Regions from separate parts of the Homo sapiens genome. Here region 2 is linked to region 1. The links are contacts of gene promoters, found by promoter capture Hi-C in human tissues and cell types (Jung and others, 2019). All regions are on one chromosome and are shown on one strand. Each heading gives the region's core, a stretch centred on a gene start or on the middle of the fragment in contact. The rest is flanking DNA. Distances are from core to core; before and after follow the strand shown.

Region 1 (5,436 bases), core at 1,687-4,186:
TTGTTCTTAACTGGTAATACCAATTACTCCTATAAACTATATGTTAAAACCAATCTTACAGCTAATAGAAGGGTAAATATGAGGCCAACTAATGTTTATACTTACACAAGTATCTACAAATATAAAGAAGTAGCTCCTTAATAATTTCTAAAAAGAGACCCATTGATTAATCTACTTGAGTCTCTTAGCAAATGCTACTGTTTAATAACTCATTTGATGGTAGTAAATTTTCTCCTGAAGCTACCCTTTCTTTATGACTAGGCAATAAGGTCTGTGGATCTGGGAGACCTACAGTTGTTATTCAATTCCTCTGCTTCCACGTAGTGTGATTTGGACAAATGACAGGCCCTGCTTTTCTCCATTACTACCAGGATGGAAGTTGTAGCCTTCTCAACTGTTGTGGCAATTAATTGCCAAGTTCTTGGTCAACTGTCAAATCTTGAGTCGAATATGGATCTCATTGAGATGCTTTGGAACTGTGTAGGAGTAGTCACTCCCACAACATTTATCTCCCCCTTCTCCCTTACTAAGAGAGCCCTGATTTTCTAAAAGATGACTATGTGCTCAGTTGAAATACTGTTTACACTCCCTTGCAGCTATGTCTTGTGACCAAGTCGTGATCAGTGAAATGTAAGTGAAGCATTGACAGAATCCCTTCCTAAATAAAAAGACAAAGCCTAGCAAGGAGGCCTTCTGCCTTTCACCCTTCACTCTTTCCCTTCTTCCTGCCTGGAACACAGATGTAATGCAAAAGAATAAACCATTTTGTAGCCATGAGGATAAAGCCATACATTAAGAAAGACAGATCAAAAGATCTGGGTTCCCAGATAGCATCTTGAAGCTATTTTATAAACCCTGGGCAGTCTGCTTTCAGACTTCTTTTTACCATGAGAAAAATAAATTCTTGTTTGGTTTAATCACCAAGAATGAATTTTTATTATGTGCAACCAAGTGCAAATCCCAGCCAATACAATCTATGGACTCATGAGGTCTTCATCTGGATCTCATTCCTCTTCTCACCGAATCAAGACTCAGGGTCATCTCTGAGCTGTAGGGGAAAAACCTGAAACCATAAAAATTCTAGAAGATAACATAAGAAAAACTCTTCTAGACATTGTGATATTCCCCTCCGCACCCCATGTAGCCAGAGGCACCTATTGCCTCAGGGAAGAATAGGATTGTTAAACTAGGAAAGTAGACAAAGGCAGGGTAAAAATAAAGCCTAATTGGTTACCCAGAGGTCCAATTTGTATAGAAAAGGCAAAATAAATGCACAATTGTTTTCCTTTTCCTAAAACAGTTTTGAAAATTATGAGCTGGTTCCCTCTGAACCATCAAGCAATCAATCTGTTCAGTTGTTTTTAAAATATTATCAATTAATAGATATAATCATGTTTGATGTGTTTTAAACAATTGCGATTATCTTTTTTTTTTTTTTTTTTGATGCTCAAATTAGCCCGTCTTTGGTCAGTGACAGCCTATTTGAATTGTCCCCTTCTTGACACAACCCTAGTGGTAGTTGATAGTTTTCTTGCTTTCTGAAAATATTTACAGATAAAATGATATGATGCTCTGGGATTTGCTTCAAAATGATGACATAGGAAAAAGGGGTATAGATGAAATATGACTGTCCATGAGTTCATAATTGTTCAAGCTGGTTATGGCCCCATGGAGATTCATTATACTACTTTCTTACATTTGTATATGTTTGAAATTTTCTAAATTAAAAGTTAAAGATAAAAAAATTCAGTCAGGCACCTATAGTCTGCAAGCACTTGGGAGTCTGAGGCTGGAGGATGGCTAGAGCCCAGGAATTCAAGACAAGCTTGGGCAACATAGCAAGATTCAGTCTCGAAAGGAGAAAGAAAAAGAAAAGTTGAGTCTTGAATGCCTGGCTTTGATTGGGGGGTGGGGGGAAGAAAAATATTTCTAAGTTCCCTAGGCTTCCCTTTACTTATTGATGAGTAGGCCCAGAGGTCTGACTACAGAGCTGTACTCTAAGTCAGAGGTCATGAGCTCTCAGGATATACCCATTACCCCCATTGTAAGGAGGGCATGAAGAAACCCTCTTGGATGGGGGAGAGAACAGAAGGATGGAGGGTAAGGAGAGGGGAAAATGTGCGAAAAGCTTTCAGAGCTTCACGAGTTGGGTACCTCTTGGCAGCTTTGCTGGTGGTCACAGGGTTGGGTAAAAGGGGTTCCCTCACTACCAATTTGTCTTACCACCGTCTTCCATTCTTTGGCCCAGATTCTAGTCTCTCATCCCCAACAAGCCTGATTCTATTTCTTGTGGTCAAGGGGATCTTGCTTTCCAGATAGGACAGGAAGGAGCACTGGGCTGGACATCCCGAGGCCAAAAGCCGAAGCCTGTCAGTGATTCAAAATGACACGGGGTTTTGGGTCTCACTTTCATCACCCATGAAATGAAAGGTCACCCTGCAAGACTGAAGCCCCTGCAGTGTCCCAAGCATCCAAATCCAACACTCAAGAAACCCTGGACCCCAACAGCCTGTCCTGCAGGCCTCCGTGCCTTTTCATTGAACGTCTTTTCCACCATTACACATCACATCGCCTCCTAAAGAAAAGCGCGACTGCTATCACTTTTTGCAGATAATTGGAGAGGCGGTGCCCAGCATAAGATGACCCCAAAGTTGACAGCACTTTCAGGCTTTGTGAATTAGGCGCGTCACCGACCTGTACGATTTCTCCTCTCTGCCCTTGCTCGCCTGCAAATCCTGACCCCCGTCCACACTGCGGAGAAATCTCCTAAGAGACGGCTGCCAGCGTCGCCTCTGCGCCCAGGAGGCGTGGAGCAAAGGACTCGGGAGCTGAGCGCGCTGCGGCCCCGCTCCCAGCGCACAGCGCACAGCCCAGAGGGAGGGGCCGGCGGGGGCCGGGCAGCGCCAGACTCGGAGCGCCGGGCTCACAGCGGCTCAGTCTCCTCCCGAACCCAGCCCGGCTGGCGAGAGCGGCAGCCAGTGCGAGCCAGAGCCCGGGCCTCAGAGCGGGTAGGCGGAGGGCCGGCGGACTGGAGCGGCGGGCCGCGCTCGGGGGCCCCGCCGTGTGCGCGTCCTCCCATCTTATCCTGGTAAGTGCGGGCGGCTGCGCCCCGCCTGCCGCTGTAGCCGCTGTGGCGGTCGTCCCCGCATCCCGGTTGCGCGCATCCCGTTGCTGCTCTGCAGGCTCACAGGTGGCTCTGCCGTGGATGTGGGCGCCCCAGGCCCCGCTAGGAGTTAGCCAACTCTCTGTGCTCCGGGGCGTGGATTTGGAGCCCCCGCCTCTCCTACCCTTGCTTTTGGCTTGGGATGGGGGGCGTGGGGCAGGGCCTGCCGTCGGGGGAGACGCGCAGAGGGGCGCTTCCATTCCCCAGCCACCTACAAACGACTCAGGGGGATGCGGGCCAAGCGCCTCACCAAATGCAACCCAGCTCCAAGCTCACAGGTGGGGCGTCTGTCCTTTAGATTTATTTTCCTATTAATCCACCAGGGAAAGTTTGGGACCACGCAAGGCAAAGTTGGGGCGCGGCTGGGGGCGAACATTCTCCTACGGAGGCAGCTCCCGGGGAGACGAGCGGTGGGTTTTCAGGGGGAGCGAGGATCGGGCTGGAGATGACTTTGCGCCCGGGGAGTTGAATCTGTCCCTGCTGGTCGCCCGGGCCGGGCATTTACACAATCCCCTGAGTGCTGTGAATCGCTTAATCGTTCCTGCTAAGCGTTGACGTTCGCAGCCACCTGGGAATCTCCGTGATGGGGTCGGGTTATCTCAGGAGTAGCAGCAACTCAGCGGGGTTGATTTGTGCTCTTGCTTTGCTCTGAAAACCTGAGCTCCAGCTAATCTCAGTATTTAAGTGGCGTGTGTTTAATTAGCTTATTTTACACCTGAGATTATCTCAGCGACTGCCTCCAAAATGAAATCGTTGATATGGAAAAGAATAGTCTTTTTAAAGAAAAACTAAAAAGAGAACTCTTCAGAATATCAGCTGTCAAGTCTGGCTATTTTACCCATCTCCTCCGTGGGATAGAGAAAGAAAACTCTGCTTTGGATATCTAACCTATTAAAGTCAGTGGTGGGGCTATTTTGGGCAGATTTTGTGGACAGAGGTATTGCTACAACTTGCGTATTGTTTATGAAATACACATGTGGTCTCTCGAAATAGCCTACTTGTTATTTCACTGCATTGGGAGTTCTTTGACTTACTAAGCTGCCTATTTTAAATATGACTAAAGGTTGTTTTTTTAAAAAAAATATTTAGCTGAAAACAATGTCTAGATGTTTAGGGAAGGCAGCTTGTGCATGTCACCAGAATTTTTTTTTGTAAACTTAAATTTGTAAAGGACTACTTTCCCGCATCTGATAAAGGAGAGACTTTTTATGAAAAATAAGATCTGATATCATTATGTGTGCAGAAAAAAGATCACTAAATTAAAGAATCACTCACTTTCCAAATGATAGGTTAAATCAGAAAAAGTTGCCTACAACTGAGAATTATGTAATTGGACCAAAAGTAAACAATGAATAATTGTTAGTTGCCAAGTACCTAGACAGTTCTGAAAGAAGTCTAGGTACCTTTATAGCACTGGAAGGTTATTACATGATTTAAGGTGAGATAATCTGATAGATTTTCACCTGTAAAATTTTTATTCTTACATCTGCCTTCTCTGCACCTAACATTGGATTTACCAAAATATTTATTTGGGTTTATACATACATCTTCATAAGTGCCACATCCCATACTAAGTGCTACATATGTTTTTACTCATCTTGAAAACAATCCTGGGTGGTAGGTACCGTAATTGTCCCCATTTTAAATGAGGAAACTGAGGCACAGAGAAGTTAAGTAACTTACCCAAGATCGCACAGCTGCAGGACAGGACTTTATCATATCTGCAAAGATCTTTATTAAAAAGACGTGATTTTATGATTTACTTATTCTCGTTTTTATTTTTATTTAAGCATAAATGATGAAAGTTTCCTGTGAAGCATAACAATCCCTGATTGTGAAAGTACCCCACAAGCATCGTTAACTATAAAGTAAGGAAAAGTATGAAAGAACCATCTGGTTGAGTCTAAAGTTGGAAGATCACCATATCCACCAGAAGACCCAGGATGGATCTGCAACAAAGCACCACCATCACTTCCCTAGAGAAATGGTGTTTGGATGAGTCACTGTCTGGCTGCAGAAGACATTATAGTGTCAAGAAAAAACTGAAGTTAATTCGAGTCTTAGGCCTTTTCATGGGTCTGGTAGCCATTAGCACTGTCTCATTTTCAATCAGTGCCTTTTCTGAGACAGATACACAGAGCACAGGAGAGGCCAGTGTTGTAAGTGGCCCTAGGGTAGCACAGGGTTACCATCAGAGAACTCTCTTAGATTTAAATGACAAGATTCTGGATTATACTCCACAGCCACCTCTTTCTAAGGAAGGCGAGTCTGAG
Region 2 (5,501 bases), core at 67-2,566, 88 kb before region 1:
AAAGGGGGAAATCCACCCCCATGATCCAATCACCTCCCACCAGGCCCCACCTCCAACAGTGGGAATTACAATTCTACATGAAATTTGGGTGGGGACACGAATCTAAACCATATAAAAGATTGTCATGATCATTATGCTATTTCTTATTTTGTTTTTAATTATTTCTATTCTGCTTTCTTAAGATAATTTCTAAAGATGTTATGGAGTAATAAGCAGGATTAATTTTTTAAAAATCCAAGTGCTCATCCTGGATTATCCAATGGAACTGGCCCCACTCCTACTCCTACTAGGAAACCTGCATCCAATCCTTCCCCTAGCAGCAAGGGCTTCAATTTCCTATTGGCCTCAAAGTCTCCAGGTGTTATGGAGCTGTTTTCCCAGGATTGCTGCAAACTGCAGCCGCCTAAATTCTGGCAGCTTGGCAATAAGAAGTCTTCTTGCTGATAAGGGCATTTTTGTGCTCATTCCAAAAAAAAAGTAAGAGCAGTAGGTGTTGTTGTCCCTTGACTGGAGCACTCTGGATCTATCGAGCCCAAAATGCCTCTGCACAGGGTGGTAACAGGTCTGCTGCCTTTGTGGCCATGAGTTCTGGCCAAAAATATCTTCCCTTTCTGGTGTTACCCCCAAGCCTCATAGATTCACATCTTTAAAAAATTAAATAAGCACATACATAAATTTATAAGAATAAGTAATAAGAAAATAAGGATGAGAAAATAAGATGGAACCAGGGTTGAAGGTGTAAATTAAGTGTACGCCACAAAGTTGTACACTCTTGTAACCTAGAAGTCCCAGTTACTTCAGCCCTTGTGTTTCACTGTTCCCTTTAATATCCAAAGCAAGAATCCAAATATCCATTCCAGGTGACCACAGGCAATCCAGTCTTCCTCCAGGTTCCTGTCTCTGAGTGTTTCTGGAGCTCTGCAGAAAGCTTCCATCTGCCACAGTTCTATCTTGGGGGCTACTTCCCTCCTCAGCTTGCTGTCTTACTTTGGGCAAGTCACTTCTGGCCATCTCAGATCCAGCTTTGTCCTGACTGCCACTACATTCCCATACTCCTTCACTCCAAACATTAGGGAATTCCACACTTGAGGTCGGTTTCTGGAATGTATATGACTTTACTAAAAGTAAGGGAACTATCACAAAGAAGTTGCCACAAAGAAAAGGAAAATTTTAAATTGGTTATGAAAATGGTCAGTGCCTCTAGAATCTGTAGGCTAAACTATGGAGCCAAACTCCATAGTTTAGCCTACAGATTCTAGAGGCACTGACCATTTTCATATACAAACTATGGACCTCCATAGTCTCTCTCTTCCCAGCCTGTCTCTCCTTTTCCTCAAACTCAGTCTAATGGCAGTCTCCAGCTTGCTTCCCACCGAAGAATTGTTCTTCCTCTGATTTCCCTCCCTTTTGGAAGTCAAGAAACCCAGCCCTCACTGGGGCCCAATAAAAAGGGAGGAACATCACTTTTCCCTCACCCTCAGTCTCAGGCCCTTCTTTCAGACAATGGCGTAATAATCTGCACAGACATGAGTCCCCTAAAGAAAGGCAAAGGTTCATATTAATATAGAGAGAAATTTAGCTCCCATATTGTCCAAAGTTTTCCATTCTGAAATAAAATTTTTGACTTTACCTTTGCAAAAGACAAATGAAAATATTTCTCCTAATGAAGAAAATAGTCCTTCTCAAAAATGAAGCAGAAAACAGCTGGCAGCTTTAAAATAGCAGCTTGAACTTACTTAGATCAAGATTTCAAAAATATTGACTCAATATTTTTGGTGAACCACAAATATGGTTCTAAATCTTCTAGCAACCCTTGTGGAAGGAAACATGACTCACTTTGTGTTTCAAGGTGTCCCATAAGACAAAAATTAACTTTTCCCATGGCTATGAGAGAGACAGAGAGCGAGACAGAGAAAGCTGTGTAATGTAATAAAAACATCTTTCATAATATCTATTAGTTAACATAGCAACAAGCTTTATAAAACTATTTCTTACAATGATCCTCACTATAAATTGGAGACATCATCATTCAGTAAAAGCAGTTCTATGGAAAGCCAATTTAAAATGGGTTAACTACACAATTTGCTGCTGATCTGACTTAACCAGAAGAAGGCTGTAAAGAATTCAGCCAGAGGGTCTTCACATAGCCCCTTATATATGGTTTCCAAGAATTCTATGAATTACCACAATTGGCACACATGTACACACACACACACACACACACACACACACACACACACGCCTTCAATAAACATACATTTTAATGTCAATCCATATGTTGAGATATTATCTCATTCTAAGTAAATGTGAGATGGCATGGGATACTGTTGTATATCCTCAGGATTTTAATTCATGTAATGATGTCTTATTATTACCTATTGAACATGCCCTTGTGGCCACTGAACCACATTCACAATTACAGAAATCTTTCTATGTTTAGGTGTTGTCTGGTTTAAATTGAAAAATATTCAAGAAGCATAATATTAATATGCTCTTTGATTTGGCTTTAATAATCAAATCTGTTGGCCCTAACAATACTAAAGGAAGACTTGACATGCTGCAAGTATATTAGATAGAGGATATTTTTGGAGAAAGTGTTGGTATTCTACTAACTCTTGCATTTTTCCCAAACATTAAACTTTGTTTTGAAGTATTGGATAAGGTTGCTTATCACATTACCATGCACAACTGGAGAAGCCTTGGTTAATCCATGTGCCTTGGAAATGATTGAGTGAATGTATGACTTGAAACAGAGAAAGGAATCTGAAGCAGTGTGTCATTCAAGTGACATGATCTAGCCCCAGATTCTTCTCATATTTTAAGCACATTCGTAGAAGAATTGGCAGCTGTTCATCATTCCTTTCAATATGCAACTGGATGCAACCACTATATTTCTCACTGTAGTTCACAACTGATTTTCAGCTGCTGGGTGCAGGCCTGTACTTCATAAAAGAATTCCTCTTTCTTGAGCCCTATTTTGAAATCTCAAAGGCCCTCACTGTCTTCAAAATGGTGACAAGTTTCTTTGCCAAGAAAACCTCCCCATAAGGATAATCTTGATATTCCGCTCACAGATGGAGCCCTTGCAGGACTTGGTAACACATCTGGGTTGATGCTTTGATGAACAAAGAGGCTCCGTATGTCATAATGACTCATTGCTGTCCTCATCGGTATGCTTTTCAGTTAGAGACTCTGCCAACCATCTTGAACTAAGTTTTGTCATTATCTACTTAAAAGTAAGTCCTCAATTTCGTCAGAGTCAGGGCTTCATCCACCTCATTTTCAAATGACTTTATGAAGAAATGAGAGCAAAATTAAAATGTTATCTACTAAGCAGAAGTACACTGGTATTTTTTAACACAAGTCTTGAAAGAGTTGATTGAAGCATCAGGAGGAAATTTCAGTTCTTTGAGAGAGAAAAGGAAAGCTTGTTCAGTATAATCTGACACAAAGGTATCCATTTATGATTTGGTTTTCTCAGTAATACTTTTGCCCATAGGCAAGAGTAAACTTTCCATTGAAGGCATCAAGTCACCATATGAATGCTAGTTAAAAACAAATACATAAGGCAAAAACTTTTGGCTGAGCTTTTTTTTTTTTTTTTTTTTTGTAATTCTGGAAGATAAAGTTAGACATAGAAAACAAAATTAACTAAGCTAACTCTCTGAAGCTAGAAGTGCTTCTGTAAATTGAGGAGAATAAATAAAGCCTTAGAGGTTTCATTGTAGGCAGAAATTTAAAGACAAAAATTGAAGAACAATACCTCTGCTCAAATTATTTGCTTACAATTTGGAAATGCAGATAAAGAAGACTTCATTCCATTGCTAAGATATCATCAATAACTCAGACGCAGACAAAGCTGACCTCAGAGATCAGGACAAATGAAATGATGTAGTGTAAATTCAACCTGAAGAATCTTGAGGGAACTCAAGTATCTAGAAATAAGCCTGTCCTTGTCTGGCAAAGAGAGATGTGGATGCCACAGACCTTTCTAAACATTTTCAGACATTGACATGAAAATTTGAAAAGTATTTGGGTCAAAGGCATGCATATTTGCATATTCAAGATCATTATACAATTTCCAATTTCCTGTACAGGCCAACAGCAACCTCCTTATCTTGCCATAAACCTTCAGAATCAAATTCTACTTTTAATTTTGTTTGAATTTTTGGACTTTTCTAGCAAGTATTCAATTATATTTAGATGAAAAATAAGAATGGGAGATATTATCTTTTCTGGGCAACACTTCTCTATTCTGTATTTGTGGAGGAAATAAATTTCCAGAGCAATGAATTATATTGATTGAAAAATATGCCTGGCCAACATGGCGAAACCCCATTTCTACTAAAAAAACAAAAATTAGCTGGGTGTGGTGGCTGACGCCTGTCATCCCAGCTACTCAGGAGGCTGAGGCAAGAGAATTGCTTAAACCTGGGAGAAAGAGGTTGCAGTGAGCCAAGATCATGCCACTGCACTCCAGCCTGGGCAACAGAGCCAGACTCTGTCTCAAAAAAAAAAAAAAAAAAAAAAGAAAAGAAAAGAAAAAGAACAATATCATATGTACGAGTTTATAGAATTTTTACCTTAAATTGAAATCTGTAGTTTTCAGCCATTGTTTAAAGGGATTTATGGCTTCAAAATTTTTAAGAATTGCTGATCTAGAGAAACAAGTTGCACAAATTATCATTAAAGCAGCCAATAAGTGTTGTTTTTAGAAACTGGGATTTTGATGGCTATTGAGACGTGATGATTTGGTGATTTGGGGCATTCGGCAAGTACATGGAGTTCAGTCAGACCATTTTGTAGCTTCAGAGCTGTGTAATATACTTTATCCCCCTTCCCCACCATTACTATGGGTAGGCTCCAAATTCTCATGATAAAACTGAGTTTTGTCTCTAAAATTCACACATAGTAGAATCTAATCCCTCCTTTTAGGAGGTGAAGCTTCTCTTCTGAATATGAGACCCTGTCTCTAGAGAAAGAAGGAAAGAAAAAGGAAAGAGAAAGGAAAAGGAAAGGGAAGGAAAGGAAAGGAGAGAAAGAGAGAGAGAGAAAGAAAGAAAGAAAGAGAAAGAAAGGAAGGAGAGAGAGAAAGAAAAAGAAAGAAAGAAAGAGAAGGAAGGAAGGAGAGAGAGAAAGAAAAAGAAAGAAAGAAAGAGAAAGAAAGGAAGGAGAGAGAGAAAGAGAAAGAAAGAAAGAGAAGGAAGGAAGGAGAGAGAGAAAGAGAAAGAAAGAAAGAAAGAGAAGGAAGGAAAGAAAGGAAAAGAAAAGAAGAAAGAAAGAGAAGGACGGAAGGAAAGAAAGGAAAAGAAAAGAAGAAAGAAAGAAAGAGAGAAAAGAAAGAAAAAGAAGAAAGAGAAAGAGGAGGAAGACGAAGGAAGGGAGAGAGGGAGGGAGGGAGGAAGGGAGGAAGGGAGGAAGGGACACCTTACTTAGATTCAACTATTTAATGCATGGCAGAAATTTAAACCTGATTTGATAATCCTTTCCCACTAAAGCCA

The links. The method cuts DNA at HindIII sites, captures the fragments that hold promoters and counts their contacts. A contact is called where the count stands out against the background at its distance.
Region 2: a fragment that was not itself captured here is called in contact with the fragment with the promoter of SLC24A2 in region 1 in 3 of the 25 tissues and cell types used here (H1 embryonic stem cells, heart right ventricle and spleen).

What each region holds. Positions count from the first base shown.
Region 1 is chr9:19,786,537-19,791,972 of GRCh38, reverse strand. It overlaps SLC24A2 (solute carrier family 24 member 2), which reads left to right and starts at 2,936. Exons shown (of 11, transcript NM_020344.4): 1 at 2,936-3,088; 2 at 4,954-5,436. The coding sequence starts at 5,107. LOC124902128 (a long non-coding RNA gene) reads right to left here and starts at 2,814. Exons shown (of 2, transcript XR_007061432.1): 1 at 2,695-2,814; 2 at 913-1,048. RefSeq lists an enhancer at 3,373-4,020. The HindIII fragment of the contact is 14,556 bases long and covers 215-5,436 here.
Region 2 is chr9:19,873,105-19,878,605 of GRCh38, reverse strand. It overlaps a transcript of SLC24A2 not described here. Among named protein-coding and RNA genes, the nearest start is that of SLC24A2, 87 kb to the right of the region's middle. The HindIII fragment of the contact is 5,741 bases long and covers 1-4,186 here.